Regions from separate parts of the Homo sapiens genome. Here all the other regions are linked to region 4. Evidence: promoter capture Hi-C in 16 types of primary human blood cells and fetal thymus (Javierre and others, 2016). All regions are on one chromosome and are shown on one strand. The core of a region is centred on a gene start or on the middle of the fragment in contact, and the rest is flanking DNA. Distances in the headings are between cores, read along the strand shown. Region 1 has its middle 71 kb from the start of DAAM1. Region 2 overlaps LOC107984642 (a long non-coding RNA gene). Region 3 overlaps DAAM1 (dishevelled associated activator of morphogenesis 1). Region 4 holds the start of GPR135 (G protein-coupled receptor 135).

Region 1 (3,468 bases), core at 748-3,247, 350 kb after region 4:
GAATTTTTTAAAAAGCAAGGCATTCAATAATACTGGGGAACAGTATGCAAGGGGCTGAGCAAAAGGGGGGAAATAGGGCCAGAAAGGGAGGCAGGGACCAGTTATGAAAAACCGTGTAAACTATTTTGACCATGACATCAACATAGGTTTCTAAGGTGGGGAGAATCAGGATCAGATTTATGTTTTTAAAAGATTGCTGTGATGGCAATGTTGTGACTAAGATTAGGCAAAAAGGGGGAATTGTCTGGGAAACAGCAGGAAGAGACTTCCAGTCCTTTAGTTGAGAGACAGTGAAGCCTTAACTAGGGCAATGGAAATGAGATCAGGGAGGGAAGGACAGGTTTGAAAGCTACTTCAGGAGGGAAAATAAGAAGAGTTTTATAAGAGAATTGGTTTAAGTGGTGAGTGAGGTCAGGTAGGAAAGATCATGAGGTTTCTGATTTTGGTGAGTGGCCAAATGGGGAAACCATAAAAAAGAAGAAATATGGAAAGAGGTACAGGCTTGAGGGACAAATAGGCCTGACATCACCATGGAGTGTCTAGTTGAAGATCAGAGGAAGATGGAAATGCAGGTCTGAAATTGAGACTAGAACTTCGGCTGACAATATATAGGTGTGGAAAACATTAGCAGTGGAAAACAGGAGGACGTCTGCTCAGCCAATGACCTAGGCTTCAGGAATTATGTCTTCCTAACCACAGCCTCCGCTGTAGAGGTGAGCCTTAGACAATGTTGTTCTACCATTATTTCAACATTCACTTGACAAGTACTTTTTGAGTCCTTATTGTGCCAGGCATAAGTGATTATATGGTGACCAAGATGGACAAGGTCCCTGCCTCCTGGAGCTCACATTCTAGTTCATGATACAGGTGGCAGGAACAACATATGCAGTGGGCCTTAAGCAGAAAGAACCTGACATGGTCTAGGAGCTTCATCATGAAATGAAGCTTGAGAGGTGGGCCAGGGCCAGATCATTTGGGGCCTTGTAGGTCATGCTAATGAGAATAGAGTTTTTCTAAGTCTCTGAGGATTTGCAAGCAGGACAGTATTGAAATGGGCTTTATCACATGTTCATCTCCACTTCTAACCACAGAGGGTTGGATTGGAAGTGGATTCCATTCTGTTAACAGAAAAGCAATTACTGAATTTACAAATTTAGAAAGGAGGCTATCTTATAAAGGGCTACAGCCTGCAAGGTGGCCATTCTGAAAGGCTGGGAAGCATAGCCTCTGGCCAAAGGCCAGAAACAGGCACTTCAAGGGAGGGAAAGATGAGACAGGAATTTATACCGAACAGGTTGGCCAAGTATACATATTCAATGGGTTATAGAGGAGCTATGAATATTCATGATGAGGGTCATCATACATATTCAGGTTGAGTAAACATGTATTTTACATACAACCCATGTTCACCCTGAGGTGGAGACTTAACATTTAAATGCATTACAATTAGGCCAGATATGTCCAAATGTGAAGCAGAGACAGGGAGGCACTCAAGTACACAGCCTGTAAAACCTGCCAGAGCCAGTCCATGGCTGGTGGTCTCTAATCAGGAGAAAGTTACAGAAATCAGTCTCTTGTTCAATCGAAGCTGTAGTTGTGGCTTGTGAAACAGGGAGTCAGTCAGCATCTGATGGTGGGTGAGCTGCAGTTATTTCAATATTGCTTATCTTGAGGTCAGTGCTTGTTTAGCTTCAGAGTAAGGAAAAACCTTGTGGCAGTTAGAACCTAGTTTACTCTTTAAGTGTAGGAGTGCATGACTTAACCCTTGCCTGGTGTGGCCTTAGGTCCTATTTAGAATTTGGTATCTTATTGCCATAAAGAGTCCATTCTGTCAGCCTTATTTTAACATTAATGCTGGCAAGTTGTTGGGTCTAAACTGCAAAAGGGAGAGGGTATGATGAGGCTTATCTGACCTCCTGACCCATCATGGCCAGGAACTCAGTTTTTAAGGTTTCTCTGGGGTTCCCTTGGACAACAGGGGGTCCATTCAGTGGGTTGGGGGGCTTAGGATTTTATTTTTAGTTCTCAATCCTTAGGCTAGCTGGTGATTTCTGACAAAGCCTAGTGCAAAAAGATTATCTGGACCAATCAAGACTTTTTTTTTCCCATCAGGAGTTTACACTGATAAACATTGAGTAAATGTGGCAATTAGTAGAGGTTGCTGAAACTGACAAGATGCTGCAAGATAGAGAAAGAACCATTATGGACTGTGTGCAAACTAAAGTTGTGAGAAAGCAGAAAGCATCATGCAGCACAAGTGATGTGGCACAGGAAGACAGAGCACGCCCCTGTTCTTTCATTCCTATGAGACACCTTTGTTCTTTATTGCCCATGTGTGTCATTAAAACAAACTCTTCCTTATTTGAATCATCTCTGTGAACCTCTCTTATAACTGAAAAGACTCAATTAAAACACCTAGGAAGAGTGGGTAAAGAGAGAAGGGGACAGAATTTACTGCTTTACCCTCTGTGACCCCGTGGATGAGTCATATTTTTATTGTAGCACTTAGAGGTTAGATTATACTTGTTTCTTTGTATGCTTCTCCCATGATTTGCATGACTTATTCATTTTGGTATCTACAGTACTGACCTTCATGCCTTGCACATTATTTGACACTCAAAAATGCTTATTGAGTTGAATTAAGCATGGAACCCTAAAATATTTTGAAGGTTGAACTAAGGAGGGAAAATAAGTACAAAGAGCAGTTTTAGAAGAAGGAATTACAGTAGCGGTACACGGGGAACCAAAATGGAGTGGCATCTGGAAAGACAAGGATGTGAGAGAATATCATAAGAAGGAGTGGTCAAAAGGACCAAATGCTGTAGAGAACTTAAAATAGCAAGGACTAAAAATGCCTATTGGATTTACCAATGGTTTTATCACAGAGATAGAAGGAAAGGTCATATTGCCATCTACTGAAAAAGTATAGTCAGCAGGGGTGGATGATATTTAATAATTTATCACAGCATATGCTGATCTTATTGATTTCCCCAAAATCGAATTACAGACTTCCATTTATATATAACTGCAAAACAAAGGATAAAGCTTTGGTCATTGAAAGGAGATGCATAATATTTTCTATAAATAAACAAATGAAATAAACATTAAAGATTCAATATGCTTAGGTTAATATACACGCTCATCAATTTTTTAGGTTTTATTTTTTAGAACAGTTTAACATTCAAAGCAAAATGAAGAGGAAGGTAGAGAGATTTCCTAATACCCCCTGCCTCACACATGCATAACTTTCCTCACTATCAACATCCCCTTCCAGAGTGGTACATTTATTACAATTGATGAACCTATACTGACATGTCATAGTCACTCAAAGTCCACAGTTTATATTAGGGCTCAATTTTGGTGTTGTATATACAGGTTTGGACAGTTAAGTAATGACATGTATCCACTGTTACACTATCATGGTGTAGATTAACTGCCCTAAACATACTCTGTGTGCTTCTCCTATTC
Region 2 (3,070 bases), core at 285-2,784, 280 kb after region 4:
TTTAGTTAAAGTTCTTTTAGGGGCAGACAACAAGAACTTTCTATGGCCAGTTTATGCAAAACAAAGAATGTAATGGGATTTATTCAAAGGATTAGACAACCAAGGCTCAAGACAAACAGGAACTGGACAAACTAGGAACCTAAGCAGTGGTAGTTTTCAGACCTCTCCAGAGCACTGGTCTACTAGCACTAAGACTCCGAGCTCTTTGTTCCAAATTTCAAATTCCTGAGAGAAGCTTATTGTCCTATGTCAGGCAACAGTCCCTGACTTAATTATCTTAAAGTACAATCCCCAGACCAGCAACATCAGTATCACCTGAGAACTTGTTAGATATGCAGATACTTGGGCCACACCTACACACCTACTGGAAAAGAAGCTTTAGGGATGGGTCCCACCACATGTGTCTTCACAAGTCCTCCAGCTGAGTCAGACACACTTGAATGTTTTTGAACCATGGATCTACAGCAAGCGTAACAAGATTGTGTGGCTCAAATATGATCACTCAGGACCTATCCCCGTGTGTCTGGGAGTCTTCTCAAAAAGGAGAAAGTGTGAATCTGGAAGCCACCCCAAGAGGTGTCAGTTAAAGCTGGTAAATCTATCAGGATCTTAATGGTAAAACTTGGTTCTTCCTGAGGGAGAGGACTTTGTAGCATTCTGAGCCAACTATTCAGTTTAGTCACTAAAAAGGCACTTGGAGGAGATTCATTTCACTGTGTTTAATTGAGAGCTCAGAAAAACTGAAAAAGCGGCATCGGAACAGAACAAGGGAGATGGAGTCATACAGAAACGTGAGAATGGCAACAATACTAAGGTTAGGCACAGTAAGTGGAGGGGTGAAAATACCTCCAGCCACCCAAAACTCTCTCCAGACCAGTCTTATTTGAACAGCTCCTCGGAGTTCAGAAAGAGAAACTCTCCTTTGACATATTTTAGCCGGTCTTCCTGTATAAGCTTCTTCGTAACTGGCTTACTCTTAGTCCATCTGTGAGACCTGTGCTGTTCAATTCTGTAGTCACTGGCCTCATGTGGCTATTTAAATTTCAATTAATTAAAATTGATGAAATTTTAAAACTCAATTACTCAGTCACAGTAGCCACATTTCAAGTGCTCAAGAGCTGTGTGAGGCCAGTGGCTACCATACAGGACATCACAGATACAGAGTATTCCCATTACTTCTTCAGAAAGTTCTGTTGGACAGCACTGCTACACATTTGTTCACTAATGACTGTTTAGATTCTTTCATGCTGAAATCCACCTTCTTTTCTTCTTCTTCCCCAAGTCAAATTCTGAAGAGAGAGAAAATGAAGAGACAAAGAGAAAGGATATATAATTGTTCTAGTTCACCAACTGAAGCTAGAACATATAATAAATCACTGGCCATCACGAAAAAGACAGCCCAACTAATGCTTAAATTCATTTGTCAGCAGGAAAATATAAATTAAGACTATAATGGGATACCACTACATACCCATCACATTGGTTAAAATTAAAAGGACCAACTATACTAAGCATTGCCAAAGATAAGAAACAAATCTTACACTGCTAGTGAAACTGTAAACTGGTAAAACTGCTTTGGAAAAATCTTTATTAGTATTTGCTAAGCATGAGCATACACATCCTTTATGGCTGAGCAATTTCACTGCTAGCAATATACCTAACAGAGTTGTGTATATGTGTTCACCAAAAGTTACCTATTCAAATGTTCATAGTTATGCTATTCATATATTCATACATGTATTCATATAGCCTAGGGTTGCCATACAATATTTGGGATATACTTACACTAAAAATATTTATTGTTTGTCTGAAATTCAAATTTAAGGAGACATTAGGTATTTTTATTTGCTAAATCTGGCAACTCCATGATAGCCCCAAACTAAAATCAACACAGTTGCTCATCAACGGTACAGTGGATAAATAGATTGTGGCATAGGCACATAATACTATATCGCAGGGGTTGGCAAACTTTTTTCTGTAAGGGGCCAGATAGTAAATATTTTAGGCTTTGAGGGCCATATGATCTCTGTTACAGTTACTCAGTGCTGCCATTGTAGCATGAAAGCAGTCGTAGACATAAAGGAATGAGTATGGCTGTGTTCCAATAAAGCTTTATTTACAAAACAGTCAGCTGGCCTGTAAGCCTGTAAGCCATAGTTTGCCAACCCGTGCTATCTGGCTATGAGAATTAACAAGCTATGTCTACGTGTGAAAATAGGAGGAACCGCACCAAAAAACACTGAGTAAAAAGAGTATATACTGTATGATTCCACTTATGTAACATTTTTTTAAAGAGGTAAAGCCATTGATAGTGTTAGAAGACAGAGTAACAGTTACCTTTAGGGGATAGTAATAGAAGAGAACATGAGAGGTCTCTGGGATGCTGGTATTTTTTATCTGGGTGCTGTTTATGTGGCTACTTTATTTTGTGAAAATTTATCATGCTGTACACTTAAGATTTGTGTCCACTTATGTATATACATATTAAAATAAAATATTTATATGAATTAAATACTAGGCCAAATTATCTCAAGATCATTCCCATAAGAAATTGTTTTATGTATTCTGGTACCCAAGTTTTTTAATATATTTTTCTAATTATAATGGTTATTCATGTCTTTTGTAAAGAATTTAGAAAATATTGCTACTTAAGGCCATAAAAATCACCCATGAGCCAACAAACGAGGGAGAAATATTAACATTTCTCCCTCCACTCCCCACCATCTTCCCTCTCATTGGATTTTTTTACATCATTAGCATTTTGAGTGCTATGTGATATTTTATTTTGGGAAGATAACCATTTGTTCTTGTTATTTATTTTTTATTTCATAATTATAAACTTAACTCTGTAATCCAGCTAGACTTAGAGAATAAGGAAAATATGGAACCCAAAGAATTGCAACAAGAGCACAAAGATAATGGACATTGCAAACAGATGGGATGGAGGGATACTCTCTTGAGCTACAGAAAGAACAGTGTGGTGGCTAAGATAAAACACAAGCCAAATTTATTAGAGTTGTCCACAGTTAGCAATGGCGATCTTCTTGTTGGTCTTGCCATTTCTGGACCC
Region 3 (3,388 bases), core at 158-2,657, 260 kb after region 4:
ACCTAACACAAAGCCTATTGTATAATAAAGTGTGGAATATCTCATGGAATTTATTAGATACTATATTGAAAATGAAAAATAGAATGGTTGTATGGGTATTCAAAGTACAATTTCTACTGAATGCATATTGGTTTCCCACAGTGGTAATATCAAAAAACTGCAAGTGGAACCATCGTAAGTCGGGGACCATCTTTCCTTTTAGAAAAACGAAAATTACGCACCTTTTGTTTCATTTATTTCTATGAATTTATCCTAAGAAAATAATCTAAAACATGGAAAAGATGTTCATAATTTTAATGGAAAAACAAAAATGGTTATCTTGTACTGTGAACTGAAGAATCATAAGGTTCATAAATTTGGAAAGGAGAGCTTTATTTCTCATAAAAGGTGCCATCCAGCAAGCACTTGGAGGGAGGAGTAAAGAGAACAGAAATGTATGCCAAGAGGGATGGTCAAATATAAGTATTTAACAGATTATAGGAGGAGTCCTGAATATTTATGAAAGGAGAAACATGCACATGCGCAACTAAGCTTCATGCCTGTATTGGGACTTTTTGTGTTATAAAGAAATATCTGAGGCTGGATAATTTATAAAGAAGAGAGGTTTAATTTGCTCATGGTTCTGCAGGCTGTACATGGATGGCAGCAACAGGGCTGGACTTCTGGTGAGGCCCAGGAAGCTTACAATCACAGCAGAAGGTGAAGAGGGAAGCCAGTACATCACATGGCCAGAGAAGGAGCAAGAGAAAGATAGGGGAAGGTCCTAAACTCTTTTAAACAACCATATCCTGCCTGAACTGAGCGAGAACCCACTCGTCACCAAGGGGATGGTGCTGAGCCATTCATGAGGGATCTACCCTCATGACCCAAACACCTCCCACCAGACCCCACATCTAACATTGGGGATTACATTTCGACATGAGATTTGGAGGGGACAAACATCCAAATGATATTGATGCCTATTCATGGGTCATATGTTCAAAAAACAGTGGCATTAGCATGATCTGAGGGTTGAGTTTTCAGCCCTCTGATGTCAAAAGGCAAAGCAGAGGACATGAAAACCCTCACTGGACCTCCTGAGAGAGTTGGACAAAACCTGCCTAGAGATGGTGGTCAGTTTTTAGGAAGGGATGCATGTGAAACTGGTGAGCTGCCACATCGAAACTGCAAAGATGGGGAGTCCGGCCATGGCCTCAGATGATTGGCTGAAAGCGATGAAGTTATGACTCATTCGTTTCTTGTTTTCTGGAGTTGGCTTCTGCTTACTCCTTAGGAAGGAATGCTGGTTAAAGGCTCATAAGGAAGGGGCATACTAAGATGTGTCAAATCTCCCATTCCATCATGGCCAGGAATTCAATTTTTAAGGTTTCTCTGGGAGTCCCCTTGGACAACAGGGTGTCTATTCGGTCAACTGGGAGGCTTAGGATTTTATTTTTATTTCTCAGTACCATGTATAAAATGAAAATAAATGCAGTCATCTAAGAGTTTTATTAAGAGTTTTAATTACATGAAAAATGCTTATGACAACATTTAATTGGGGGCAGAATGCAAAAGAGCGCAGGTAATGTATAATCAAAAGCATTTTTAAAACTTCATTAAGATTTTTATCTATTTCTATGTACTTTTCTGTGTTTTTTTCCCCACAGTGAACCTAAATTAATATTATAACCAAAAAATAAGTTTCTGACTTAATAGTTTCAGAATGGCCTTGAAAATTCCCCATGCTAGGCACGGCAAAATTTCTCAGAGAAGGGACTGCTGTCAGGAAAAAACCCAAGATTTAGAAGTGGGCAAAAGAGATTACTGGGTATCCTCTCAATGGAGTGTGATTTGTGGTCTAAGAGGCCCTCCAGGGATGATCTTTGACTTTTTTGTTTGTAATTAGGCCAGTGGTTCTCAAAATATGATCTGAGGAGTCCTGGAGAGCCAGAGGACTTTTCAGTGTGTTCGTGAGTTCAAAACTAATTTCATTGTAACACGAGGATGTTGTCATTTTCACTCTTACTCTCTCAACAAGCATAGAGTAGAATTTTTGAGGCGCTTTAATACCCACGATGAAGTCATCATTCACATAACATGAAATAGGTTTCATTATTGATATGTTTTAAATGAAATTAATAGTTTTAAAGCTTCTTAATTCTAATTTCTAACATGATAAATATATTACACAGTAAAATCTCTTTGGGATCTTCAATTTTTAATAGAGTCAAAGGGTCCTGAAATCGAAAAGTTTGAGAACCTGTTGGACTAGACTATCTCACAGCTCTGTAGAGGCAGAAACTCACTTGCCAAAAACACACAGTAATGTAATGCCTCTTGTCCATAGCAAAACAAATGAATTTTGTCTGGTAGTGATATAATTGCCTTACATGCCTATAGAAAAGATAAGCAAACATTGCATTTTACGGCCCTTGAAAATATTAACAAGTGCTGTATACACTAGCAAATTTATTTCAGCATTTCTGATTGTGGATAGATGACAGATACACAGGCAGACATATAGATACCTGTTCTTCAAATTCTCCTGTGAACGACCCTTAACATCTTACTGGTTCCCTCATTAATTAATGAATTAAAATTGTTGGCATGTGTTTATAATTTTGAGAATCTTATTTTTAAACTCTTTGAGAATTATTCTTTAGCACCAACTATCTACCAATAGATCAGTTCCTGCATACAGGCCACAACACTGATTAAAAATAAATTAATAATTAATCAAAATATGTTTTAAAACAAATGCAAGCTATGATAAATAAGTTTTACTAATTCAACAAAACAAACCCAGTCAAGACCCTACTTTAGTTCCTAAATCTACTAGAGTATTTTTTGCTAAATGTAGCTGAAGATAATACAAACTGATTTGTCAAAACTTCAGAAAAGTAGACTTGATTTCCAATATTTCTTACTACTTTCCTCCTCAAAATAGTTTGATCCTAAAGAGTATCTACTGTTTACACCCGGCATTCTAGAAACTCTAATCTTTTTTCCAATTAATTTTAAACACTGGAATAAGAGTGGGATAAGTATATCTTATTTTATAGATGAAATATCTGGCCGGGCTCAGTGGCTTACGCCAGTAATCCCAGCACTTTGGGAGGCCGCAGCAGGCAGATTACGAGGTTAGGAGATCAAGACCATCCTGGCTAACACGGTAAAACCCTGTCTCTATTAAAAATACAAAAAATTAGCCGGGCATGGTGGCAGGCACCTGTAGTCCCAGCTATACAGGAGGCTGAGGCAGGAGAATGGCGTGAACCTGGGAGGCGGAGCTTGCAGTGAGCCGAGATCGCACCACTGTACTCCAGACTGGGCGACAGAGCAAGACTCCGTCTCAAAAAAAATAAAATAAAATAAAATAAATACCTGAGCCCCAGAATGATCAAGTGAA
Region 4 (3,414 bases), core at 186-2,685:
TAGATGGCCCCTGCAATAAAGAATTATCTGGCCCAAAAGTCCATGACGCTTAGGCTGACAAACCCAGTTTTGGTTTGCCACCTTAAACGTTCTTCTATTTATACTGTAAATTTCCTGTAGGATATTTTTTCTGAATGAAATAAGCACTCCAATACTAATACCATTGATTCTAAGATCTACAAATATACTAGTCATTCTTTAGAGCAGTGTTTCTCAAATTTGTGCATCAGAATCACTGGGAGGGCTTGTTAAAACATAGGTGCCTGGGCCCCACCACAGGAGTTTCAGTAGATCAGGGGTATCCTATGCACTGTAGGCCTGATAATTTGTATTTCTCAAGGTTTCCAGGGGATGTTGATGCTGCTGGTCCAATGTCCATACTCTGTGAACCACTGCTTTAGCGAAGAGCCCAGGGTTAGTTAACCTGAGGGTTTATCACACTTTTCCCCATTAGAGGCCATGCCCAGAAACTTGAGATGCAACTTCCCTGGGTAGCCCTGCCTTTCTTTTCCCCGTATCTCCCAGCCAGGTACCTGGAGCTGCATCTGTGGTGATTGCCAGGCTGGCAGCACCTTAGACTCAAAACATACCCCATTCCTGAGAACAGATGAAGGCTGCTAGCAGGGCAAGGCACCAATCCCTCTCCCCCCATTTATCAGCCAGTAGGGGCCTGAGGTCCAGGCCCTTGGAAATGAAGTAACATCTAAAGGAACTATCCTAGCTCCTCAGAGCACCTGTATCAGAATCACCTACGGGGTTTAGAGTCATGGGCCCATCCTTAGTAATTCTGTCAGCCTGGGAATCTGCATTTTATGAAACTCTTGACATCAGTGCTTCTGTAAGTGTGGTCCTGGGACCAGCATCATCATCACCACCCGCGAACCCGTTAGAGATACAAATTCTTGGGTACTTCCCCAGACATATTCGAAACGCTGGGGTTCAGACCTCGTCACTTGTATTTTAACACGCCCTCTATGTGAATTCTGTTAGCTCAAGTTTGAGAATTACTGGTTTAAATTAGTCTGCTTCTCAAGTTTAAGATGTCTGGATGTAGACTTCTGGATTTTTCTTTCACTTCACTTTCTAGATTCCTTTCCTACCTGTATATACCAAAAGCACCCACAGGAAGCAGAGTGCCCCCCCCACCACTCCCCAAAAGGCCTGCCTGTAGAACATTTGTACCCTACAAAAGAGAGCAAGAGTGAACTTTCGTTGAATCTGGTCATTTGTTTGCATGCCAGTCGGCACTTTATCTGGCCGGACATTGGTCCCTCAGGAGGTCGACCTGGCACTCTCGGAAACCCGAACACCCGGGCCGGTAACCTCCGGAGTGGCGGTGTCGCGGGTCGGCTTTGCAGCGGGTACTGGGCTGCCGTCCCGCCCCGCGCTCCTGCGTAAACACGCGGTTCCCTCGGCAACGCTGGAACCCACGTCAAAGGCTCCGCCAGGTCCCCAGCGACCGCCACCCCTCCGGCCGAGCCCAGCTCCCCGCGGCGGCCGCTAGCCCCCGGCCCCGAGCCACCACTCCGACCTAGCGGCCGCCGCCCCCGGTGCGGGATGAGGAGATCCGCGGCCGCCACTGGGCCCCATGGAGGAGCCGCAGCCGCCCCGCCCACCAGCGAGCATGGCCTTACTGGGCAGCCAGCACTCCGGCGCCCCCTCCGCGGCCGGCCCACCTGGCGGGACTTCCTCCGCGGCCACGGCGGCCGTGCTCTCCTTCAGCACCGTGGCGACCGCGGCGCTGGGGAACCTGAGCGACGCAAGCGGAGGCGGCACAGCTGCCGCTCCCGGTGGCGGCGGCCTTGGCGGGTCCGGGGCAGCGCGGGAGGCGGGGGCGGCGGTGAGGCGGCCGCTAGGCCCGGAGGCGGCGCCGCTGCTGTCGCACGGAGCTGCAGTGGCGGCCCAGGCGCTCGTCCTCCTGCTCATCTTCCTGCTGTCTAGCCTTGGCAACTGCGCGGTGATGGGGGTGATTGTGAAGCACCGGCAGCTCCGCACCGTCACCAACGCCTTCATCCTGTCGCTGTCCCTATCGGATCTGCTCACGGCGCTGCTCTGCCTGCCCGCCGCCTTCCTGGACCTCTTCACTCCGCCCGGGGGTTCGGCGCCTGCCGCCGCCGCGGGGCCCTGGCGCGGCTTCTGCGCCGCCAGCCGCTTCTTCAGCTCGTGCTTCGGCATCGTGTCCACGCTCAGCGTGGCGCTCATCTCGTTGGACCGTTACTGCGCTATCGTGCGGCCGCCGCGGGAGAAGATCGGCCGCCGCCGCGCGCTGCAGCTGCTGGCGGGCGCCTGGCTGACGGCCCTGGGCTTCTCCTTGCCCTGGGAGCTGCTCGGGGCGCCCCGGGAACTCGCGGCGGCGCAGAGCTTCCACGGCTGCCTCTACCGGACCTCCCCGGACCCCGCGCAGCTGGGCGCGGCCTTCAGCGTGGGGCTGGTGGTGGCCTGCTACCTGCTGCCCTTCCTGCTCATGTGCTTCTGCCACTACCACATCTGCAAGACGGTGCGCCTGTCGGACGTGCGCGTGCGGCCGGTGAACACCTACGCGCGCGTGCTGCGCTTCTTCAGCGAGGTGCGCACGGCCACCACCGTCCTCATCATGATCGTCTTCGTCATCTGCTGCTGGGGGCCCTACTGCTTCCTGGTGCTGCTGGCCGCCGCCCGGCAGGCCCAGACCATGCAGGCCCCCTCGCTCCTCAGCGTGGTGGCCGTCTGGCTGACCTGGGCCAATGGGGCCATCAACCCTGTCATCTACGCCATCCGCAATCCCAACATTTCGATGCTCCTAGGGCGCAACCGCGAGGAGGGCTACCGGACTAGGAATGTGGACGCTTTCCTGCCCAGCCAGGGCCCGGGTCTGCAAGCCAGAAGCCGCAGTCGCCTTCGAAACCGCTATGCCAACCGGCTGGGGGCCTGCAACAGGATGTCCTCTTCCAACCCGGCCAGCGGAGTGGCAGGGGACGTGGCCATGTGGGCCCGCAAAAATCCAGTTGTACTTTTCTGCCGAGAGGGACCACCAGAGCCGGTGACGGCAGTGACCAAACAGCCTAAATCCGAAGCTGGGGATACCAGCCTCTAAGACGGTTGGAATGGCCAGCTTATGAAGGCAAATTTCCACTCGCATTATTTAATGATGGAAGATTCTGGGGGAGAGTTGTGGATTTCATAAAGCCAAACATTTAAAGCTAGAGACGGGGGAGGCTTACCACTTTCCCCAAACAACATAAAAGACAATGTCCCTTCTTCAAAAGTGCCAAAAGGAATGTAAAATGCAAAAATTAAAACAATCTTAAACCACATAACCAAGCATTGTGAACTGTAAGTGCCAAAAATGACAAAAATAACATTCACTATAACTGAAAAGCTCATATTATAGGACCACACTGTGAAACAAACAAAACATTGAATGCAACCAGTATT

Evidence for each region. Contacts are between HindIII fragments. The CHiCAGO score rates a contact against its expected background, and 5 or more counts as called.
Region 1: a fragment that was not itself captured here is called in contact with the fragment with the promoter of GPR135 in region 4 in 7 of 17 cell types (megakaryocytes, monocytes, endothelial precursors and 4 more); the score reaches 7.8 in megakaryocytes.
Region 2: a contact is called between a fragment that was not itself captured here and the fragment with the promoter of GPR135 in region 4, in 8 of 17 cell types (total B cells, naive CD4 T cells, fetal thymus and 5 more). The highest score is 6.9, in total B cells.
Region 3: a fragment that was not itself captured here is called in contact with the fragment with the promoter of GPR135 in region 4 in 1 of 17 cell types (monocytes); the score reaches 5.1 in monocytes.

Annotation. Positions count from the first base shown.
Region 1 is chr14:59,116,156-59,119,623 of GRCh38, reverse strand. No RefSeq gene overlaps it. Among named protein-coding and RNA genes, the nearest start is that of DAAM1, 71 kb to the left of the region's middle. The HindIII fragment of the contact is 2,100 bases long and covers 948-3,047 here.
Region 2 is chr14:59,181,882-59,184,951 of GRCh38, reverse strand. It overlaps LOC107984642 (a long non-coding RNA gene), which reads right to left. Exons shown (of 2, transcript XR_001750928.1): 2 at 705-1,289. It also overlaps the pseudogene PPIAP5. Among named protein-coding and RNA genes, the nearest start is that of DAAM1, 5.2 kb to the left of the region's middle. The HindIII fragment of the contact is 1,156 bases long and covers 957-2,112 here.
Region 3 is chr14:59,206,239-59,209,626 of GRCh38, reverse strand. All of the region lies in intron 1 of DAAM1 (dishevelled associated activator of morphogenesis 1), which reads right to left. Among named protein-coding and RNA genes, the nearest start is that of DAAM1, 19 kb to the right of the region's middle. The HindIII fragment of the contact is 1,449 bases long and covers 683-2,131 here.
Region 4 is chr14:59,463,401-59,466,814 of GRCh38, reverse strand. GPR135 (G protein-coupled receptor 135) reads left to right here and starts at 1,435. Exons shown (of 1, transcript NM_022571.6): 1 at 1,435-3,414. The coding sequence starts at 1,589. The coding sequence ends at 3,073. It also overlaps a transcript of L3HYPDH not described here. RefSeq lists a silencer at 1,365-1,904. The HindIII fragment of the contact is 8,985 bases long and covers 1-3,414 here.